3 separate regions of the Homo sapiens genome follow, and regions 2 and 3 are each linked to region 1. Evidence: promoter capture Hi-C in human tissues and cell types (Jung and others, 2019). All regions are on one chromosome and are shown on one strand. The core of a region is centred on a gene start or on the middle of the fragment in contact, and the rest is flanking DNA. Distances in the headings are between cores, read along the strand shown.

Region 1 (2,652 bases), core at 39-2,538:
ACGATCTAAGGAAGAAAATAAAAAGCATTACTTTTTGGCAACAGCTAAATAAAAAAGCAAATTACCATCACCCCCTATTCCCCAAACTCCATCACCTACCTGCCCAACACTCTGTAGGGCCTTCAGATCATTTTCAGACTTTTCATACTGCTTGGTAAGTTCTTTTAATTGTTCCCTTACTGAAATAATACAATTTGAACATTTTTAATTGAACAGTAATCTTAGTGTGTTTAAGTCGCTACGTCTCACTTTACTGTTTACGTAAGTCTACTTCACTTTACCTAAGTTTCACATCCACTGTTTCAAACCATAAAAGAAATAATGCTGTTTGTAATGAGTAGGTGGCATGTATAACAACAAAATGTTACAGAGAAAGCACCATACTTTTACTTTGTTGATCGGCAATACTTGTTTAAGCACATCTTAAGTTATAGTCTTAGAAGATATTGACACCCTGACACTTAGGATTTGCGACTACAAATCCGAATGATAATCACTTAGACCCTTCCTCACCTCTTCACCTACCCACGTGGATTGTTCTCTGACATTCTACCCTAAATAAAGTCAACAAATGCAGTTCTCCACAGAATCATGTAATTATGGTCCTCCATTTAATTAAACTACTCATGCTTTTCAATGAAAATGCACTGGAAAAAAAAGTTAAGCACTCAGGAGGTAAGGGAAATTTGTATGCCTGATACAGTACAACACGAAACACAAGACGATATGGGTTATTATGACAACTGGAACACTTCTCTCTTAAGCTCCGCGGCCGTCTTTCGACTCCAAGAACAAGCCGACTCCCTGAGTCTCATCTCTTGTTTGAGCTTACTTGACTCAAGCGCCTTCCCCTCTCCAAGTCCCGGGACTCCACCAAGACTGCCCTTCTTGCACCCTAACCTGGGAAACATCCTCGGCCCACTTCCCCACTCCTCCTCTACTTCTTTTTCATTTTCACCTCAAGGCCGCCGATGTTCTGTCACCCGGGCTGGACTGGGCCATTTCTACACCCGAAGGAGTGCTGCTCCACAAGCTCAGGGCCGGATGACAAAGCGCCTTGTCCCTGGCCCTAGGCCTGGTCATCTCTAAGGCTCGGTTGCCGGGCTCGGCGAAAGGCTTCTGCTTTGTCAGAGGCAGAAGCGAGTCGAGGCACTTGATTAAATGGAAAGAAAGGTGCACTCACACTCCTTAAGACGGCCGTCGATCTCCTTGTGTTCAAGCAACTTCTTGCGGTAGTCCTGAAGCGCCTTATCTCTAGGGTCCGCCATGATGAGAAGCCGTCTCTCATAGGGGATGCCGGGAATGGCCATGGCCGTCCGGGCGGGGGAAGGGGCGGGGCGAGGGGCGAAACCCTGCCTGGAGGGGTGGGTTCGCCCATGAGCCCTCCCCTTCCGGTTGGCCCCGTCTTTCTACTCCACTTCCACCTCTATGTCTCGGTTCACCTAGAGCGCCGGCATACACTGAAAGAGGCCTCCACCTATACCGTTTCTTGCAAGCCGAGATAGGTAAAGCAGGACTCAGTTATCCCGGTCTTCCCCTGAGAGGCCTCAGTATTAAGTCACTGCTGTCCCGGAAGTATAAAAGGCTCTGTAATAAACTGAGATGGAAGTGAAGTAGGAAATGTGTAATACCTCAAAGGAGTTCCGATGGCCTGTCGACACAACACAGATGGCCTTTGTTATAACACAGTACTGTCCAAGACCTCCACGTGCTGGAGAAGTAGACAGTTTTATTCATCCATTCAGTCAGTGAATGAGGTATTAAAGGTAGATCTGCTTATCATTTGATAGGAAATAATAATAAAAAAAACTTCAGAGTTTAACAAATACTGTGAAGGAATTAAAACACGGTGAGAAGTATGGTGGGAAGAATTAATCTAGAACAGATATCTGAGATGAGAAGGAGCCAGCCTTGCAACAACTGAAGAAAACCTAAACAAACAGTGCAAGTCCTGGAGTGGAGTGGGGTGGGGGTTGTGGGTAGAAAGCTTGACTCACTTCCAGGAACAGAAAGGAGGCCAATGAGACCAGTAGGGGGTGGGTTGTAGAGATGTGGGGTACAAGATAAAGATGCTGAAGTAGGCTGAGGCAGGAACTTTGAAGTCTGATAGAACCTTCAGATTTATGTATTTATTTATTTACTTTTGAGATGGAGTCTTGCTCCTGCCGCACAGGCTGGAGCGGTGACGCGATCTCAGCTCACTGCAACCTCCACCTCCCGGGTTCAAGCAATTCTCCTTCCTCAGCCTCCGGAGTAGCTGGCATTACAGGTGTGCGCCACCACAACCGGCTAATTTTTGTATTTTTAGTAGAGACGGGGTTTCGCCATGTTGGCCATGCTGGTCTCGAACTGCTGACTTCAGGTGATCCACCCTCCTCAGCCTCCCAAAGTGCTAGGATTACAGGTGTGAGGCACTGCGCCCGGCCAGATTTTTTTTTTTTTTTTTTTTTTTTTGAGTCTGTGTCTCACTCTGTCACCCAGGCTGCAGTGTAGTGGTGCGATCTTGGCTCACTGCAACCTCTGCCTCCCGGGTTCAAGCGATTGTCGTGCCTCACCCTCCTGAGAAGCTGGGATTACAGGCGCCCGCCACCACGCCCGGCTCATTTTTGTATTTTCAGTAGGAATGGGGTTTCACCATGTTGGCCAGGCTGG
Region 2 (2,652 bases), core at 114-2,613, 1.6 Mb before region 1:
GAATCTGGGACAGCACATGGACCTTGCCAAGCGGGGCACACTCTGTGGCATCTGCATTTGCTCTTCCATCTGCACAGTGAGCTCTTCCGTGCATCTTCCAAAGGCTGGCTCCTTCCCATTTCTCAGTCCTCTGGTCATAGAAACCCCTTGGAGGGAACTTTTTTGACTACCTCATCTAAAATAGGCCCGGCCCCAGCCAGCTTTTCTTTTTTAATTAAAAATTTAATTGTGATATAATTCACATAAGATTTCACAAAACACCACATTCACCATTTAAAAGTGTACGATTCAATGGTTTTCGGTATATTCACAATATTATACGGCCATCACCACTATCTAACTTCAGAACATTTCCATTGTCCCCAAAAGAAACCTCATACCATGAAGAAGTCACGGCCCACCTCGCATTCCTCCCAGCCTCTGGCATCCACTCATCTACCGTCTTGTCTGTATGGAATTGCCTGTGCTGGGTATGACACACCCACTTCTTTTTAAATGTTAAAGCACCCTGTTTGTTTCCTTCCTGGCATGGATGTATTTGCTCATTTACTTGTTTACCATTTATTCTCACAATCTATGAATAAGTCGCAGAGTTTCTTCACAATTCAGTCTGCCCAGCCTTAAAGTGAGCCCAGCCTTTCACCATAGGATCCAATCTATGTGGTGGTGCAACCACTTCTGGGGCTACTGTGGAAGAGACTCGTCTGTGGTAGCATGCCCTCCAAGAGTTCTTGAGGGCTCTATATCTTTTGAAGGATTTTCTGCTTTTCACTTGCAACCCACAGAGTCATAACTGATTTAATCACCTTCTTCAGAGTACTGCGTGCATTTGTAGAAGACTCTTTAAGGCCTGGGCTTCTTGCTGCAGCAATAAATACCAGTAACCTTTACAGAGCATGGGCCGTATGTCAGGCACAGGGATATGTGCTTCACTTGTATTTTTTCCACTTGGTTTTATTACAGTCCTGTGAAATAGGTATAATTATTGCATCCCATTTTAAAGATGAGAGAATTGAGGTTAAGGGAATTGGCACATTTTACTCAGCTAGTTTGTGGCAGAGTGGAGACTGGAGTCCCAGCAGTTAGACCTCCAGGGCTCATGCTCTTAACTATTCTGCTCTTTCTTCAGCCTCTCAGACTTCAGTCAAGTGTTAGCACGAAGTGACGGTGTGATGTTTGCATGCGGCATATGAATATTATTGCTCCTGGTAAGATTGTTTACGATGACATCATAGACAAAGAAATGTTTCCTTGAGTTCCTAGTATAGCAGCTGAGCAACAGTTTTTGTTATATGGGATTCTTTTCTGCCCTTTAGTTTGGGAAGTGACCAGCAAGGTGTCCTGGGAATGCCAGGGGGCTGTATAAGTCTTTGCGCATGGATGAAAGGAAGAGGCATGAGATGGAAGCTCATGCTTCCAGAGCAGATGGCCCTTGGAAGAACTTGGTTTCCTGCAGGAGGGTTGACTCCCAGGAGAACTACATCTCAACAGCTTAGCCATGTGTATTAGTCAGAGTTCTCTGGAGAAATATAACTAATACATGATATGTTTTATATATATATGTGTATATATATGTATATATATATATGTGTATATATATGTATATATATGTGTATATATGTATATATGTGTATATATGTATATGTGTGTGTATATATGTATATATGTGTATATATGTATATATATTCATATATATGTATATATATGTGTGTATATATATGTGTATATATATTTAAAGAGATTGATTTTTGAAGAATTGGCTTATGTGATTACAGAAGCTGGAAGTCCCAAATTTACAGGGTGGACCAGTAGGCTAGATAACCTGGGAAGAGCCAGTGCTGTGGTTCAAGTCTGAAGGCTGTCTGCTGCAGGATTTATACTTGCTCAGGAAAGGTCAGTCTTTTGTTCCATTTAGGCCTTCAGCTGATTGAATGAGGCCCACCCATATTATGGAGGGCATTCTGCTTTACTCAAAGTCCACTCATTTAATGTAAATCTCATCCAAAACCACTTTCACAGAAACATCCAGAATAATGTTTGACCACATATCTGGGCTCTGTGGCCCAGCCAAGTTGATATAACCATCAAGGTGAGGTACTCAGTGCTCAGGTCCAGTTCACCTAGGATCTAGGCTGGAAGGCAAGGAGGGCAGTGTTGTTGGGAGGGCATTCTACCTCCTACAAGGTGAGGGGAGTCTGGATCTCATCTACTGTAAGGGATGACCAGTCGGCTCTCCAAGGGTGGTTCTGGTGGAGAAAGATGTGTCTCAGCCATCTTGAGTTTGCCCGGAGACCAAGCACTTGTCAGAGACCCACCTTTGGGTTGGTGGGTAGAAGAGCAGATGGTCTTTGCACTTTCTCACTGGGTGGATCTCAGGGAGTAAGTGATTATTCACCCACAGAAGGCCCACTTGGTGCTAGCTTGAGCCGTCTCTGGATTGTATTCATCCATTCAACAAATACCTGCTGACTGTTTATTACATGCCAGGGCTCTTCTAAGTAGTGGGGATACAGCAGTGAACAGACAAAAATCTCTGTCCTCAAGAAATTTACATTCTGGGAGTGAGAAGAGACAGACATCTAAAGAAAATAAAGAAGTAAAGTAGTATGTTGTAGACCAGATAGTGATAAGTGCCATGAGGAAAAATAAAGG
Region 3 (2,652 bases), core at 71-2,570, 1.1 Mb after region 1:
CAAAAATAAAAATACTCCTTAATCTTATAGTAGATTAGGGGAACAGACACGTGAGTTAACAGTTACAACATAGTTAGTTCATGCTATGGTAGAGATACGCAGGAAGAATAGTGAGAAGGCCTAGGGAGGGAGAGCATCAAACATCCCCTGTGAACTGAGAAGGGAAGGATAAACAGAAGTTTGCCTGAGAACAAGTTGGTTGAGACAGTGCTCTCAAACTTGCAAGCACGTTGGAATTACCTAGAAACTTTCAAAAACTATTGATGCCTGTGTCTCAGGCATATAATTTAATTGGTCTGTGGTATGGCTTGGGCTTTGGAATGTTTTAAATATCCCCAGGTTATTTTAAGTGTAGGCATATGGCAGAGGACACAGAGTGAACAAGCACACAGAGCCATGCTTTTAAAGCATGATGGCCATAGCCTTATTTTGAGAGGTGTAAACTTTGGTAGGTGGTATTTGTACATTTTGGTGTAAAGAACACAGTAATATAGAAAATGAGATAAGAACTGCTGTAATTCACATTCCTTTACAGGTATTTTCTAGACACCAGGATAGTATGTTGACAATTAAGATTAGCATATTAGAAGAAAAAAAATTATTTTTATCTTTTGTATAATTCAGGCTTATTGGCTGGGCGCGGTGGCTCATGCCTGTAATCCCAGCACTTTGGGAGACGGAGGTGGGCAAATCACCTGAGGTCAGGAGTTCGAGACCAGCCTGACCAACATGGAGAAACCCCATCTCTACTAAAAATACAAAGTTAGCCAGGCATGGTGGCACATGCCGGTAATCCCAGCTACTCAGGAGGCTGAGGCAGGAAAATCGCTTGAACCTGGGAGGCGGAGGTTGCAGTGAACTAAGATCGCGCCATTGCACTCCAGCCTAGGCAACAAGAGCAAAACTCCATCTCAATAAATTAATTAATTAATAATAATAATAAATCAGGGCTATCCAGCATTCAGAGTATGTTTTAATGCTGATATGTAAGTTCTAGTCTAAGAGAGAAGTCAGTGATTTAACATACTGGCTTTTAAAGAATACTTTTCCAGAATTAAATACCGTTCATCATTCTGGCTGAAGGTCATAATAAAGAAATTAAGTTCATTTTTCTTTTTGGTAATTACTGAGATTCATTTTAAAAGCAAAACAAAAAGTACTTTAAACAAACAAAATAAATTTAATTAAGTCCTACTTTAAGGTTTTAGATGTCCCTGTAGCTAATGAAAGAAAATAATCTCACATGGAAACTTAAATAGTTTAGTGTTATGGTCCTGATTTTCACTGCCTAACATTTAAAATGCTCTTTTTATTATTCTCAGCTAGTAAAATAAAGTACCCAAAGAGACTTTAATGCTTAAGAAAAGTCAGGAAAATTGATTATCATTCATTTAACCCAGCTGTCTAATTACCATACACCGGGAGCCCCTAACCAGGAATACGCATAATTATTTTTCAGAGGCAGCATAGCACGGGGCTTATGTAGCAATCTAACTCAAGAAGATTTACTTTTACCCAATTTATAGAAATACAGAGTTGAAAAAATTAAATTCATTAAATTCTATTCTCCTGATCATCAAATTTTGAAAAAAAAATATGTAAAAGTAGAATAACTTGATTATCCAGGGTCAAAGTTTCATTTTAATATGGTTTACAGGGGATGTATTTAAAGAACTACTTTGTTTCCATTCTATTATGGCTTTAATTTCACCACAAACATCACAATTCCCATTCCTTGAGGGCTTGAATACTAGAATACTCCAGATGTAATAAGAAAGGTTTGATAAGGCTGGAAGGGCCAGACCCTGCCCCTTGCTCTTGGGAAGGTGTTGCACAATGTAGAGAGAGGGCCCATCGTAGAGAATTACACTGGCGTCTTGGAGTTGAAAGGCATAGCGGCAAGGCAGTGCTAGGTTAAGGGATACTGCTACTAACTAAAATATAGTTGAGGAATTATGTATAAACATGGGATTGCTGCCTTATGCATGAGACTTTACCTTATACAGAAGACTGAAGATAGAAGAGCTCTAGTACAGAAAAATGTCAAGCAGAAGGGCAGGACAAAGGGTGGATTCCCTACAGTATGAAACTTAACTCATGTATTCTGTTTGTGTGATATACAATGGGTCTTAAAGGTTCCAGAGTAGTTTTGCAGCTCTGATTCTTTGATCACTCACTGAAAACCTGGGGGAAAAAAAAGCTTACCCCAGAGTTGGGAGGCAATTCCCTCCACTCCCATTAGGATACGCAAGAAGAAAGGAAGCAGCAATCTATCTGGTGACAGACTGGTTACTCTTTGACTTATGTCTCAGGCACGCTCTGATTATCTGAGATAATATTCTCAGAGGATTCCTTTGAAACACTAGTGATAACATTATGGAGGTCTTGGGCCACTGAGGTTCTCTTCAGTGGGTTTTTTTTTTTTTTTTTTTTTTTTGGATATGGAGTCTCGCTGTGTCGCCCAGGCTGGAGTGCAGTGGCGCGATCTCGGCTCATTGCAACCTCTGCCTCCTGGGTTCAAGCGTTTCTCCTGCCTCAGCCTCCCGAGTAGCCGAGACTACAGGCGCGTGCCACCACCCCCAGCAAATTTTCTGTATTTTTAGTAGAGACGGGGTTTCGCTGTGTTAGCCAGGATTGTGTCGATCTCCTGAC

The links. The method cuts DNA at HindIII sites, captures the fragments that hold promoters and counts their contacts. A contact is called where the count stands out against the background at its distance.
Region 2: a fragment that was not itself captured here is called in contact with the fragment with the promoter of PSMC6 in region 1 in 1 of the 25 tissues and cell types used here (dorsolateral prefrontal cortex).
Region 3: a fragment that was not itself captured here is called in contact with the fragment with the promoter of PSMC6 in region 1 in 1 of the 25 tissues and cell types used here (aorta).

What each region holds. Positions count from the first base shown.
Region 1 is chr14:52,705,836-52,708,487 of GRCh38, reverse strand. It overlaps PSMC6 (proteasome 26S subunit, ATPase 6), which reads right to left and starts at 1,288. Exons shown (of 14, transcript NM_002806.5): 1 at 1,184-1,288; 2 at 100-179; 3 at 1-5. The coding sequence starts at 1,268. RefSeq lists enhancers at 928-977, 998-1,247, 1,548-1,607, 1,628-1,737. The HindIII fragment of the contact is 7,628 bases long and covers 1-2,652 here.
Region 2 is chr14:54,345,043-54,347,694 of GRCh38, reverse strand. No RefSeq gene overlaps it. Among named protein-coding and RNA genes, the nearest start is that of CDKN3, 51 kb to the left of the region's middle. The HindIII fragment of the contact is 4,115 bases long and covers 1-2,652 here.
Region 3 is chr14:51,646,104-51,648,755 of GRCh38, reverse strand. It overlaps a transcript of FRMD6 not described here. Among named protein-coding and RNA genes, the nearest start is that of FRMD6-AS1, 4.3 kb to the left of the region's middle. The HindIII fragment of the contact is 6,050 bases long and covers 1-2,652 here.